3 separate regions of the Homo sapiens genome follow, and regions 1 and 2 are each linked to region 3. Evidence: promoter capture Hi-C in human tissues and cell types (Jung and others, 2019). All regions are on one chromosome and are shown on one strand. The core of a region is centred on a gene start or on the middle of the fragment in contact, and the rest is flanking DNA. Distances in the headings are between cores, read along the strand shown. Region 1 overlaps CACNA1B (calcium voltage-gated channel subunit alpha1 B). Region 2 overlaps CACNA1B (calcium voltage-gated channel subunit alpha1 B). Region 3 holds the start of CACNA1B (calcium voltage-gated channel subunit alpha1 B).

Region 1 (4,690 bases), core at 361-2,860, 55 kb before region 3:
AAGGGACCATTTTCAGTGGTGCTGGACAAGCCTTCTGTGGTCAAAGTACTAGGATTAGGTAGTTGGATCCATCTTTCCAGGGTCAAGCCTGCAATAACTGAAGCCCTGGACCTGGAACCTGAAGCTCCTATCAGCCACTACACCTGTGAACCTGTGGGAACAGTGAAGTACCTGTTTAAAAGACAGCCGAAAAATAAGTAAATGCCTACCAACTTTCCTTGGTGTCTTTGTTGCATACTTATCGTAAGCTGGATATTGGTAGCTATTTTTTATATTTTTACAATTTGTTTTATTCAAAATGGATGGAATCACTTCCTTTGTAATAATTAACCAAAGTGTTTCAATTCATTTTTATAACAAGCATTCCTGACAGCATAGGTATCCACCCCCTGAAGTTCCCATTCTATAGGACAAAATAACAAATAAGTAATTTTTTTTTTGTTCCATAATGGTCACCCACAGCCTGTGTATACAGGAACCATGTCTTACTAGCAATCAGCTTTATTTCACAACAGAGCTTCCCTTTACCCCTCCAGCAATTAGTGGATTCTGGGTATTTATTAAGAACTTTAAATTTAACACAAAGACTTAAATACCACCAGCCCAGCCCTGGCAAAGGACTGTTGGTTTTGTTTATCTCCATCATCATCTAAATATACTGCCATCCTGATCCCAGCCCAATCTTGGGCCCTTAAGGAAATGACCTATCACCCTAACTACAAAGGAGGAACTCTCTTCAAACTAATGAGCCTGGATGACATACATGAATTCAAAATCATGGAAATGACAAGGGTTACAATGACAGGATAAGCAGTAAACCTACTCCAATCCCATCTGAGCAACCTTTCTGGAGTTGCATCCCCTCAGAAACCAATTTGGGGCCCAATATAAATGTACACAGAGCTAAAATTGCAGGTGCCACTTTGTATTAACAGAAGCGAAAATTCTGGTCCGGTCCTTGGAACCTTGAAAAGTCATCAATGTGCCGGACGCGGTGACTCACACCTGTAATCTCAGCACTTTGGGAGGCCAAGGCGGGCAGATCATGAGGTCAGGAGATTTGAGACCACTCTGGCTAACACAGTGAAACCCCATTTCTACTAAAAATACAAAAAACTCACACCTGTAATCCCAGCACTCTGGGAGGCCGAGGCAGGCAGATCATGAGGTCAGAAGATTTGAGACCATTCTGGCTAACACAGTGAAACCCCATTTCTACTAAAAATACAAAAAACTAGCCGGGCGTGGTGGCACGCGCCTGTAGTCCCAGCTACTCAGGAGGCTGAGGCAGAAGAATCGCTCGAACCTGGGAGGTGGAGGTTGCAGTGAGCTGAGATCGCACCATTGCACTCCAGCCTAGGCGACAGAGAGAGACTCCATCTCAAAAAATATAATAAATAAATAAATAAATAAATAAAAGTAAAGATAAAATAAAGTCATCAATGCAACTACACCCTGGAAGTTAATCCTTCACTCGATTACGTAAGCTATACAGTTACCCAAACCGCATCATTTAGATAACCTGTACGGTTTTCATGGAAACCATCCCTGGTTAAGGGCTTTAAAGGATGGACAGCCTAAGTATGGTCGAGGCAGGCCCACTAGCTGCATTCACGGTTTCCCTTGTGAAGAATGTACTAATCCTGAGACGTCTAGTTGCCTTTTGGTTCCCCAGTATGAAAATACCTCTGGGTGATTGTTACTGGACACTAAGCCTAACTACCTCCACTGGGAAAAGAGAACTGCTGGGGCAACTCAAGATACTTCCCAAGATCCTTTCCAGCCTTTAACCAGGGCCACCTTAGCAAAGACCTCAACCATATGGGAAAGTGAAAACAACAAGCTAGCCCATGTGTTCACCATAGAAAACAAGTTCTGTCTTGAAAAACAAGGAGCCTTTTTCCCGTGCGGGACCAGTTCCTACTTAGATTTACCAGCCAACTGGACTGGAACCTGTAACTTGTTATTTAGCTCCCAAAATTAATGTAGCTCCCAACAACCAATTCTTCACTATACCTTTAACTGCAACCACCAGACACAAATGAGCCATCCAACTCACACCCCTTTTGGTTGGGTTAGGAAGAACAGCAAGAGTAGAAACGGGAGTTAGCAGGCTTGCAATCTCCCTATCCTATCACTAACTTGTCCAGAGATTTTATGGAAAGCTCAGAAGACACTGCCCAAAGTATCGTCGCCATACAAAATCAGACAGACTCCTTGGCAGCAGTCACTTTACAGAATTGAAGGGGACTGGATCTCCTAACTGCTTAAAAAGGTGGCTTATGTCTTTTTCTAGAGGAAAAATGCTGTTTTTATGTCAACTAATCAGGATTAGTAAGGGATGCCGCCTGGAAATTAGCTGACTGGGCCCCTAAGATACGACAACAGCTGTCTGAGTCATGGGGCTCCTGGTCAGAAATGCTAAGTTGAGGTGCATGGCTCCTTCCTCTAGCCGGCCCATCACTAATGACTATATTTGCCTTGGTTTTTGGACCATGTTCATTAAATCTCTTAAACAAATTCATTTCCTCTCGCCCAGAGACCATCAAGCTTCAGATGATCATGAGACAAGGTTTCCAGCCAGTTCCAGGTAAAGACACCACCCCTGGCCATCCAGCAACTACCATGTCTCCACTAGACAGAGCAGGGTGAGAGTTCCATGATCCCCAATAGGTAGGAACTGTGCCCAAATCAGCATGAAGCAGTTACTGAAGAAAAAACCATCAGTCCCTCGGCCTCCTATAAAGATGATGGGGATCACATCTCGGGGGAAATGAGGCAGGAGAATAGGGTCTGGAGGCAAGGAACCTAAGGCCGATTTGTGCTGACTTCCTAGAACTAAATCAAAAGGAAAACTCCACCTCTCCACATCCAAGTAACAAAAGAAGAGGCTACTCCCTTTGCAACGCCCCCCATTCCACTGTATCGCAGACGAAAAATGGAAAGTACCTGATTGGTCGCCTCCCATGACCAATCAGAATGGTAGAGGGCCTGGTCTTCATTTACACAGGGTGTAAGCAGCTAACCAATGGGAAACCTCTAGAGAGTATTTAAACTCCAGAAAATTCTGTAACCAGGGCTCTTGAGCCGTTTACGCGAGCCCGATCCCACACTATGGAATGTACTTTTGTTTCAATAAATCTGTGCTTTCATTTCTTCATTTCTTCATTCCTTTGTTGCTTTGTGCATCTTGTGCAATTCTTTGTTCAAACCGCCAAGAACCTGGACAACTCGTAGTCAAGACCCTCCCCAGATAATACCATCTAATGTAGAAGATTCCTTCAGTGTGGAAGGGTGAGGCTGCAATGAGCTGAGATTGCACACCATCACACCACTAAACTCCATCCTGGGTGACAGTGAGACTGTCTCCAAAAAAATGTAAAAATATAAAAAAAGATTTATACAAAGATTAATTTTTTTAAATTGGAGTGGCTAGATTAATATCAGATAAAGCAAACCTCCCAGTAAAACAAAATTACCCGAGACACAGGGAAACATGTATATAATGATAAAAAGGTCAATCCATCAAAAAAAAATAGCAAGTCTAAATATGTGTATACTCAACAACAGAGCTGCAAAATAAGTGATACAGAAACTGACAGAACTGAAAAGAGAAACAGACAAATCTGCAATTAAAGCTGGAGACTTCTACACCTCTCTCTTAACAATTTGTAGAATAGACAGAAAACCAGCAAGGATATAAAAGAGCTCAACAACACCATCAACCAAAAGAATCAATCAACATCTGTACATGCAGCACACAACAGCAGAATATACATTCTTTCCAAGTGCCCACAAAATAAATATCAAAATAGACCATATTCCGAGCCATGTAACAAACGTCAACAAATTTAAAATTAAAATTCTTTCAGTTTAGTGTATTCTCCCACCACAATAGAATCAAACTAGAAATTAATAACAGAAAGATAACAGGTAACTCTCCAAACACAAAGTAAACAAGACAGTTCTATATAATAATCTCATAGGTCAAAGAGGAAATTTCAAGGGAATTTAAAAATACATTGAACTGAATGAAAGTGAAGAGACAACACATCAAATTGCAGGACACAGCTAAAGCAGTGCCAGAGGAAAACATATAGACCTACATGTCCACCTCACAAAAGAAGGAAGTCTAAATAATCATCTAAACCCCCAGCGTGAGCCACTGCGCCCAGCTGACATTTCTTCAAAGAAGATATACAAGTGATGAATAGGCTCATAAAAGATGCTCAACAATGGCTGCATGCGGTGGCTCATGCCTGTAATCCCAGAGCTTTGAGAGGCCAAGGTGGGAGGATCACTTGAGGCCAGGAGTTCAAGACCAGTCTGGGTAACATAGCAAGACCCCACCTCTACAAAAAAAAACAGTTTTAAAAACTTAGCCAGGCATGGTAGCATGCGCGTGTGGTCCTTGCTACTTCGGAGGCTGAGGAGGGAGAATCGCCTGAGCCCAGGAGCTTGAGACCAGCCTGGGCAACACAGGAAGACCTCATCTCTACAAAAAATTTAAAAATTAGCCAGGCTTGGCAGTGTGCACCTGTGGTCTTGGCTACTCTCCCAAGCTGAGGTGGGAGGATTACTTGAGCCCAGGAAATTGAGGCTACAGTGAGCTATGACCATGCCCCTGTACTCCAGCCTGAGTGACACAGTAAGACCCTGTCCCAAAAATAAAAATAAGTCACTTTAGAAA
Region 2 (4,405 bases), core at 330-2,829, 35 kb before region 3:
AGGGAATTCTAGGAGGGAAGAGCAGAGAATGCTGGGAGCTAAGGGCAGGGGATCCTGGGAGGAAGGAGCAGAGAATGCTGGGAGCTAAGAGGAGGGGACCCTGGGAGGGAAGAGCAGGGGATCCTGGGGGAGAAGTACAGGTATTCCTAACAGACCCAACTCCTTGGGAGAAAGTGAGGCAAAAAAGACCTGCCCCTGGGAATGTTCTGCCACTGGCCATACAGCATGTGAGGAACTGGGCAGAGGAGCCTGTAAACCTTGACCCCTCCCCTTCGAGTCTGGCCCCAGCACTTGGATATGGGCCAGAACCATTGCCTGGCAAGGTCTCAGGGTAGAACAGGGAGCCAATCACGGGTCTTCCCTCAGTGGCCTCAGGAGGACACAGCTCTAGTTCCATGTCCACTCAGGCCCTTAGGTAAACCTAAAACCAGACTTCCACTGGGCTGAAGGAATAGGGGTCCAGGTGGTCACTGGCTCATGAGGTCACCCTGGCCATCCTCCTGCTCATGGCAGGCTCTGTGGGCAGCCCACTTCAGGAGCATGTCTTAAGGCTGGCCTCAGTCCCCAGTGGCCCTGACAAGACTGAGCCAAGAGACAAGTGGCCCTTTGCAGCTTTTGCACATTTTCTCAGGCATCCTTCCCCACCACCTTGGTCAACCTCTCATCCATTCTTTACCCTCAGAAAAAGAAGCAAAATGCTGAAATGTGACAGAGTATGTGAGGAGGAACAAAGCTTCCATCTAGGGAAGCCAGGTCAGGGTAAAATAACAGCATCACCCTGTGGGCTTTCATGGAGGGTGTGACAGGCCAAAAAAGGCCTGCTCCTCCCTTCCTCCTGCCTGGTTCCCTGGGGTCAAAAGTGGCAAGCTCAGAGTCACCAAAGCCAAACCATGGCCATGGCCATGTCCGTGGTGAGGGTAGGAGAGGAGGTTGTTACTCCAAGCCGGCTTGGGCCTGTCTTCGCTGGACTCACTTGGAATCCCAGACACCAGCTTCAGGGGCCTCAGCACACGCACAGCCCTCAGTGTTCGCAGGTCGAAGTCAGTTCCAGCCGTGGCAAGGATCCTGGCAGAAACAAGGAGAAGAAGGGAAGTAAAGGTTTCCACATTGAGCCTGGAAGAGGACACACTCCTCCCACCACCAGGGTCATGTCTCCCAAGAGCAGTGACACCTTCATTCCTGTGTCCCCACTGTCCAACCACAGGGCCAGCACCTGTGTCCCCCCACTGTCCAACCACAGGGCCAGCACAGAGCGGCTTGCCAGGTGAGAGGAGGCAGGAACTGAATCCAGAAGCGCTCACAGGAATGTTCACAATCACCCACATGACCAAACCTCCAGTTCAAAGGCACCATCTCTGAATAGACACTTGGCCCCTGGCATGGCAGGAAATCTGTCTACCAATTGAGTTTAAGGCTGACCCATATCCCCTAACCAACCCCAGCTGCACTTCAAGCTGCCTTCTGAGAGGAGTGGAGACTGAGAGCAGGAGCAGGATGGAGCCTGAGGGACTCCTGAACCGACCCCCATATACCACCATTCTTTCCCTTATCTCAGGAAGACAGGGAAGTGGGGTATTGGAAAGGTGGAATGAGGAAGACACTGTGGTCAGTTCTATTAGCAAAAAAACATATCCCAGTATCTCCCATCTTAAGAACAAAACTAAAGATCCCATATCTGCCTTCTACCACAGAGCATTTCTCTGTTCCCTTCCCATCAGAACTCACGGATGGTGTCAATCCTCGGTCTCACCACTTCCTTATCTTGAGCTCTCTCATTAGCTTTCTCCAGCCAGGTTCTCACCCACCTCTCCACTGAAATGCTACCTCAAGCCTTCCTCTTGCCAATTCTAACGGTCAAGTCTCCTTTAAAGGGTGTGGTCTCTTGCCTTAGGCCAACTCTCTCCTGTTTTCCTCCCACTCCCTGGGGGCTCCTTCTTAGTTTCTTTTGCCAGCTTTGCCTTCTCTGCCAGAGATTCAAAACGAGGGTGCCCCAAGGCTCATTCCATGTAGGAGCTACCCAATAGCTTTGAGTATCACGCATGTCCGTTATTCCCAAGTGTGTATCTTTAATCCAGACCTGGAGCTCTAGGCTCATATATACAACTGCCTTTTTAACAGTTCCATATGGGTATTTTAAAAAGCATATGAAACATTACACAACTAAAGAATTATTTTTTTCACTTTAACACAAGTATAAAAGATGTACCTTTTTTCTAAAGTTCAGAGTTGTTACATCACAGTGACTAAGAAACTTTCTATTCTTACTTCCAGTCCTGCTCCTTCCCCCTTTGTTCCCCTCAGCGGATCGCACCAGTCACCTATTGTTTAAACCAAACCTGAAACTTCATCCCTGACTCCGGTCCTTCTCTCATATGCCACGTCCGGGTCACCAACAATCCTGCTGGCTCTGCCTCTAACGCGCATCCAGGGTTCTTGGCGAAGGCTTTGTGATCACCCGCTCCAAACACATAGCCGTAACAGACAAAATCTGAGACAGAACTGGGGGTCAAAAATAGGATAAATATCGGCCGGGCACAGTGGTTCACGCCTGTAATCCCAGTACTTTGGGAGGCCAAGGCAGGTGGATCCCCTGAGGTCAGGAGTTCGAGACCAGCCTGACCAACATGGTGAAACCCCGTCTCTACAAAAAAAAATACAAAAACTAGCTGGGCGCAGTAGCGCATGCCTGTAATTCCAGCTACTCGGGAGGCTGAGGCAGGAGAACTGCTTGAGCCCAGGAGGCAGAGGTTGCAGTGAGCCGAGATTGCGCCATTGCACTCCAGTCTGGGCTACAGAGCGAGACTCCGACTCGAATAAATAAATAAAGAAAAGATAAATATCTCAAAATAAAAAAAGAAAAAAAGGACAATAAAAACCCTTCTATTCAAACCAAAATGCCAGGTTACCTGAGGAAGCCCAATGCTACGGGAAGACATTCAGCAGGATCAACTATTGAAAGAGGAATTTTGTTCAGATAAAAACAGTAAACTATTAAACAAAAACAGGTAGAAAAGGTAGAAAATTTAAAACTAGCTAGATCAACGGAATAGAATAATAACCCAGAAATAAACCCCCACATATATGTCAACTGGTTTTCAACAAAGGTACCAAGACCATTAAGTGGAGAAAGAATGATCTTTTCAACAACCAAGCAGAATAAAGTTGGACCCTTACCTTACACCAAATACAGAAAGTAACTCAAAATGGATCAAAGATCTAAATATAAGAGCTAAGACTAGAAAACTCTTAGAAGAAACATAGGGGAAAATATTCATAACATTGGATTTGGCAATAATTTCTCGGATATGACACCAAGAGCACAGGCAATAAAAGAAAAAATAGATTAGATTGAACTTCATCAAAAGTAAAAAGTTCCGTGCATCAGAGCAAGGGTCCCCAACCCTCAGGCCACAGACCAGTACTGTTCTGTGGCCTGTTAGGAATCAGGCCACTCTGCAGGAGGTGGCGGCAGGCGAACGAGCATTACTGCCTGAGCTCCGCCTCCTGTCAGATCGGCGGTGGTATTAGATTCTCATAGGAGCATGAATCCTACTGTGAACTGCACATGTGAGGGATCTAGGTTGCACGCTCCTTATGAGAATCTTATGCCTGATGATCTGTCACTGACCCATCACCCCCAGATGGGACCGTCTAGTTGCAGGACAACAATCTCAGGGCTCCCACTGACTCTATATTATGGTGAGTTGTATAATTATTTCATTATATATCACAATGTAACAATAATAGAAACAAAGTGCACAATAAATGTAATAACGCACTTGAATCGTCCCAAAACCATCCCCCGACCTCTGGTCTGTGGAAAAATTGTCTTCCATGAGCCCAGTGCCTGGTGTCATAAAGGTTGGGGGCTGCTGCACCAGAGGGCACTATCAAAAAGTGAAAAGAAACCTACAGAAAGGGAGAAAATATCTGCAAATCATATCTCTAATAAGGGATTAATATCCAGAAAATATAAATACTCTTACAACTCAACAACAATAAAAACAACTCAATTTTAAAATGGGCAACGGACTTGAATGAACATTCTTCCAAAGAAGATACACAAATGGCCGATAGGTGCACGAAAAGATGCTCAACATCACTAATCATTAGGGAAGTAAACATCAAAACCACAATGAAATACCACTTCATACTCACTAAGATAGCTATTATTGGCCAGGCGCGGTGGCTCACACCTGTAATCCCAACACTTTGGGAGGCCGAAGCAGGCAGATCACCTGAGGTCAGAAGTTCAAAACCAGCCTGGCCAACATGGTGAAATGCTGTCTCTACTAAAAATACAAAAATTAGCCAGGCATGGTGATGGGGGCCTGTAATCCCAACCACTTGGGAGGCTGAGGCACAAGAATCACTTGAACCCGAGAGGTGGAGGTTGCAGTGAGCT
Region 3 (4,854 bases), core at 142-2,641:
GCCGGGCACTCACCAGCCGCTCGGACATGGGCGTTTTGTCCCCATCAGGGAGGTGCTGCTCCAGGGCCAGCACGATGCAGTTGGCGATGATGGTGGCCAGGATCATATACTCGAATGGAGTGCGTGAGTTAAGGACTGGCCGGCAGACGCCGCACGGAGGGAAACACGAGGCCGACGCCAGCAGAGCCCAGTGCAGCAGCCACCGCTAGGCCGTCTCCGGAGGGGCTGAGACAACTGGGTCCGGAGCCCCTCTCCTGGCGGAAGCGGCCTGGTCTCCCTCACTCCCTGCCCCCATCCCTAGGGGCGGCCGCGAGGCGGGGCCTCCGCAGTCTGGGCCGCCAGCCCCTCGGCACACCCGGGCGGCCGTCAGCACCGCGGACAGCGCCTCCGGCCCGGCTCCGCCCGACTCCAGGGCCCCGAGGGGAGGGGGCCGAGCGCCCCCAGGCGAGGCTGGAGGGAGACCCCGCGCAGGCGCACGCTGCTCCCTCCAGACACGCAGCCACATGTACCTACACAGGCACGTGAACATGCATGTAGCCCGCATCGCGAGCGCACGCACGCGCAGCGCCAGGCTCCAGCTCAGCCCGCACACGCAGGCACCTGCAGCCAGGCGCGCGCACGGCCGCGTCCCCACAGCGCTCGCACCTGCACGGACGCGGCTTCGCCCTCGGTGCCCTCCAGGCTAGCCGCGCACTGTGCACCGACCAGGATCCCCAGGACCCGGCGTGCGGAGGGACGAGTCCGGAGCAGAGGGGCTCCGCCCCGCGCCCGCCGCACTCACGGAAATGCTCCCGCACCCGCCGCTCCGAGGGGCCCTGGGGCGCTCCGTACCCCCCTCGCCCGTCTCCCGACGCCTCCCCAGGTCGCGCCCTCCCGGCCACCGGGAAGATGGCCCCGGCCCCGGCCCCCACCCCGGTCCCCGCCCGGCCCCGCCCGGCCCCGCCCGGCAGGATATGGCCACTCGGTGATGCGCTTCGCGTATTTGCGGACGACGTTGTCCTCGCTGAAGACGAAGAGCGAGCGGTTGACGGTGAAGCAGTTCTGCTTGACCGGGATGGGGTTGTACAGCGCCATGGTCCGCGCGCGCTGCGCGATCGATTGCTTGTAGAGGACCCGCTGGCCGGGCTGCAGCCCCCCGGGACCCGGGCCCCCCGCCCCGCCGGCCCCGCCGCCCCGGGCCCGCTCTCCGCCGCCGGGGCCCCCATAGCGGCCGCCCAGCTCGTCCCCGAAGCGGACCATGGCTCCCGGGCCCCGCGTGCATCCCCGGCCCAGCGGCCCCGGCAGGGAGGGCGCGGGGCGCGCCAGGCGCTCAGAGCGGAGCAGCCACGGAGCCGCCGGGACCGCAGCGGACCTCGCCCGGCCCCACCGCCGCAGCCGCCGCCGCCTCACCCGACTCCGCGGCCCCGCGCCACGCCCTATAAGGGGCCGGTCACGTGGCGGGGCCCGGCCAATCCGCGCCGGCCCCGCCCACCCTGCCGCGCCGGCCCCGCCCCGCGGCCGCCCCCGCCCCGCCCCGGCCCCTCCGGCTGCGCCTCCCTCGCCCCGCGCCTCCCACCCCGGGGCTGGGCCGGGCCCAGGAGCGGACGAGCCTGTGGGTCCTCGACGGCCGCTCAGCGCCAGCCCGGGCCGTCCCCGGAGCCCACTCTGCCGGCCGCACCGCCCCTGGGTGCCCTCGGCTCCTCAAACTCGGCCCAGACGGACCCCTCGCTCCGCCCGGAGGCGCCACCAGCCCTGGGGCTGCAGCCCAGAGCTGGGCGCCAGGCCTGGGCCGGCCCGCCCCGTCCCCGCCGGGTCCCCGGCCTTCCCAACCCTCCGGGTGCGCTCGGCTCGCGGCCTTGGTGCCACGCGGACGCTTCTGTCGGGGGCCCCCAGCCCGGGTGCGGGACCTGCTGTTTCCACGCACGGGGCTGGCTCCGGGATCTCAGCTCAGAGAAGCCTCTGACCGCCTTGCAGGCCACGCCCCGTTAGGGAACCTGTCACGGTCACTGCCATTCCCCAGGCCTCCTTGAGCGCCCACCGCGGGCCGGGCCTGTCCTGGGCTCCCAGCTCTGCCCTCACGGAGCTGACCGTTTTGTACAAAGCACAGCAACCATTTACACAGCGCTCACTTCGTGCAGGCCCGTGGGTCCTCACAACCTCCAAAAAGGCGGCCCCGGGGTCGGGGAGACCTTCGGGAACAAGGGACCCTCTCGGACCTGAAGCTCGCTCGCAAGGCGCTGAGTGCAGAGTGAGGCCGGGTGCGGGCTGCGCCTTCTGAGAGGGAGGCAGTCCGCACAGTTCCGAGCAGAGGCGCGTAGGCCTCTGAAGGGTCCCTCGGGCTGCCGTGTGGAGTGTGGACTGCAGGAGGCTGGGGTGCTGAATCACTTAGGATGCATTCAGAGGCGAACAACCCGCTTCCCAGCTAGCAGCAGCTTGCACGATGCCATTGTGATCTCACTGAATACGAAGCCACCATCTCTCCTCCCTCCAAAATCCCCACATACACTTTCTGCCTTCCTGCCTGTTGCCTCATGCCCCAGGGTGGCTGTCATAGCACAGGGCATCACACCGCTACACCAGCATCTCAAACGGGAAGGAAGTGGCAGGTGTACAAAGGATGACCACTTTGTGAATCAGGTTACGATTTTCTTTTCTAACAAAGGAAAAGCTTCTCAGAGGCTCCCCCTGCAAGTGTCTCTTTAACCCCGTTAGGCCATGGGCCATGTGGCCGGCCCTGACTTTAACAGGGTGGGAAAGTGAACATGTGTCAAAGTGGACCAGGATGGCCAGCCCCCACTAGGCGAGCACATAGTTGCCCCAAACAAAATCAGGGTTCGCTTAGCTGGGAAGCAGGTGCTAAGGCTGTCGGGGAGGCTGCCAACTGGCCTGTCACAGAGAAAAATCAGAGCCCAGGGAGGGGTTTTGACAGCAGCACAGAGAGAGATGATGTGGTTTGAACATGGGGGCCATGAGCAGTGCCTCTTTCTCTTAGAGAGAGTGCGTCCAGTGTAAATGTGAAGGAGAGATAGAAACACAGGCTCTTCATTTTTGGTCTGAGTGACTGAGTCGAGGGGGATGCCCTTTGCCGAGATGGGGAAGACAGAGGGAAGAGCTTGTTAGTCACAGGGTGGAAATTAAGAATTGCCTACTGGGGACAGAAGTGGAGATGCTATGCAGGGGTGGAGTTTCTCGAGGGATGCCAAGACGAGAGGCCACTGCTGCAGCCCTGCGCCTGGAGGCTGGGCTCGCCACATCTGCTCTGCCCTTCCCTCCGTGCTGCGTGACGCTGGAGCTGGCCTTTGAAAGCCACATCAGCCTGTTCCTTGACCTGTGGTTTCTGGTTATGCTAGCCCAACAGGAGCACCAAAGGCCCTTGAGGGAAGGAAAGAGCAAGGCCAAGGTGTCTACTATTCCCCTGACTTCCTCCTGCCAGGTCACCGAGGGTTGGCTGTGCACCTCAATTGAAGCTCCGGCCCTGTCAGGCACCCACCACTCTCCTTTCTCTCTCTCCAGTTCCAGTTCCTGCGTCCTCCCCTTGTTCCTGCCAGCGGGGGATGGCATCACGCAGGCATGGTGAATCCTGGCCCTTGGGACTTCCCTGCGCCTTGCACAGATCGCACAGATTGTGGTAGATGGTCCCTTGCAAGTGTCATCCTGCCTGATGCATCACCACCGAGGAAGCGACCGAAGTCAGAGACAGAGGATGCTGCCACTCCCCAAGAATGAAGCCGGTGAGGAGGAGCAGCCAGGGCTGTGGGGGGTCGGGGGAGTGCCCTGTCCCGGAGCTGAGGGAGGAGTGCGTGTAGTCCATAGAGATGAGGACCGACATTCAGCCATCAGAGTGGAAAGACAGAGGTGCCCATCACCCGGACAGCAGTTTCCACAGAGGAGCAGCCCGAGTGGGGCGGATTGAAGAGAATGAGTTGTGAGGAAGTCCCTACAGCGGGTGTAGACAGCTCGTTCAGTGAGGAAGTCCCTACAGCAGGTATAGACAGCTCATTCAGTGAGGAAGTGCCTACAGCAGGTGTAGACAGCTCGTTCAGTGAGGAAGTCCCTACAGCAGGTATAGACAGCTCGGTCAGTGAGGAAGTGTCTATAGCGGGTGTAGACAGCTCGGTCAGTGAGGCAGTGCCTACTGTGGGTGTAGACAGCTTGTTCAGTTAGGAAGTCCCTATAGCGGGTGTAGACAGCTCGGTCAGTGAGGCAGTGCCTACTGCGGGTGTAGACAGCTTGTTCAGTTAGGAAGTCCCTACAGCAGGTGTAGACAGCTTGGTCGGTGAGGAAGTCCCTACAGCAGGTGTAGACAGCTCGGTCGGTGAGGAAGTCCCTACAGCAGGTGTAGACAGCTCGTTCAGTGAGGAAGTGCCTACAGCAGGTGTAGACAGCTCGTCCAGTGAGGAAGTGCCTACAGCAGGTGTAGACAGCTCGTCCAGTGAGGAAGTGCCTACAGCAGGTGTAGACAGCTCGGTCGGTGAGGAAGTGCCTACAGCAGGTGTAGACAGCTCGGTCGGTGAGGAAGTCCCTACAGCAGGTGTAGACAGCTCGGTCGGTGAGGAAGTCCCTACAGCAGGTGTAGACAGCTCGGTCGGTGAGGAAGTCCCTACAGCAGGTGTAGACAGCTCGGTCGGTGAGGAAGTCCCTACAGCAGGTGTAGACAGCTCGGTCGGTGAGGAAGTCCCTACAGCAGGTGTAGACAGCTCGGTCGGTGAGGAAGTCCCTACAGCAGGTGTAGACAGCTCGGTCGGTGAGGAAGTCCCTACAGCAGGTGTAGACAGCTCGGTCGGTGAGGAAGTCCCTACAGGAGGTGTAGACAGCTCGGTTGGTGAGGAAATCCCTACAGCAGGTGTAGACAGCTCGTTCGGTGAGGAAGTCCCT

Evidence for each region. The method cuts DNA at HindIII sites, captures the fragments that hold promoters and counts their contacts. A contact is called where the count stands out against the background at its distance.
Region 1: a fragment that was not itself captured here is called in contact with the fragment with the promoter of CACNA1B in region 3 in 3 of the 25 tissues and cell types used here (dorsolateral prefrontal cortex, lymphoblastoid cells and stomach).
Region 2: a contact is called between a fragment that was not itself captured here and the fragment with the promoter of CACNA1B in region 3, in 5 of the 25 tissues and cell types used here (dorsolateral prefrontal cortex, heart right ventricle, lymphoblastoid cells and 2 more).

The regions. Positions count from the first base shown.
Region 1 is chr9:137,929,644-137,934,333 of GRCh38, reverse strand. The region is part of intron 6 of CACNA1B (calcium voltage-gated channel subunit alpha1 B); the gene reads right to left. Among named protein-coding and RNA genes, the nearest start is that of CACNA1B-AS1, 15 kb to the left of the region's middle. The HindIII fragment of the contact is 9,868 bases long and covers 1-4,690 here.
Region 2 is chr9:137,909,840-137,914,244 of GRCh38, reverse strand. CACNA1B (calcium voltage-gated channel subunit alpha1 B) reads right to left here. Exons shown (of 47, transcript NM_000718.4): 4 at 974-1,065. Among named protein-coding and RNA genes, the nearest start is that of CACNA1B-AS2, 19 kb to the right of the region's middle. The HindIII fragment of the contact is 6,756 bases long and covers 1-4,405 here.
Region 3 is chr9:137,874,319-137,879,172 of GRCh38, reverse strand. It overlaps CACNA1B (calcium voltage-gated channel subunit alpha1 B), which reads right to left and starts at 1,391. Exons shown (of 47, transcript NM_000718.4): 1 at 956-1,391; 2 at 14-119. The coding sequence starts at 1,239. CACNA1B-AS2 (CACNA1B antisense RNA 2) reads left to right here. Exons shown (of 4, transcript NR_121583.1): 3 at 3,493-3,710. RefSeq lists enhancers at 283-1,198, 4,433-4,854. The HindIII fragment of the contact is 23,600 bases long and covers 1-4,854 here.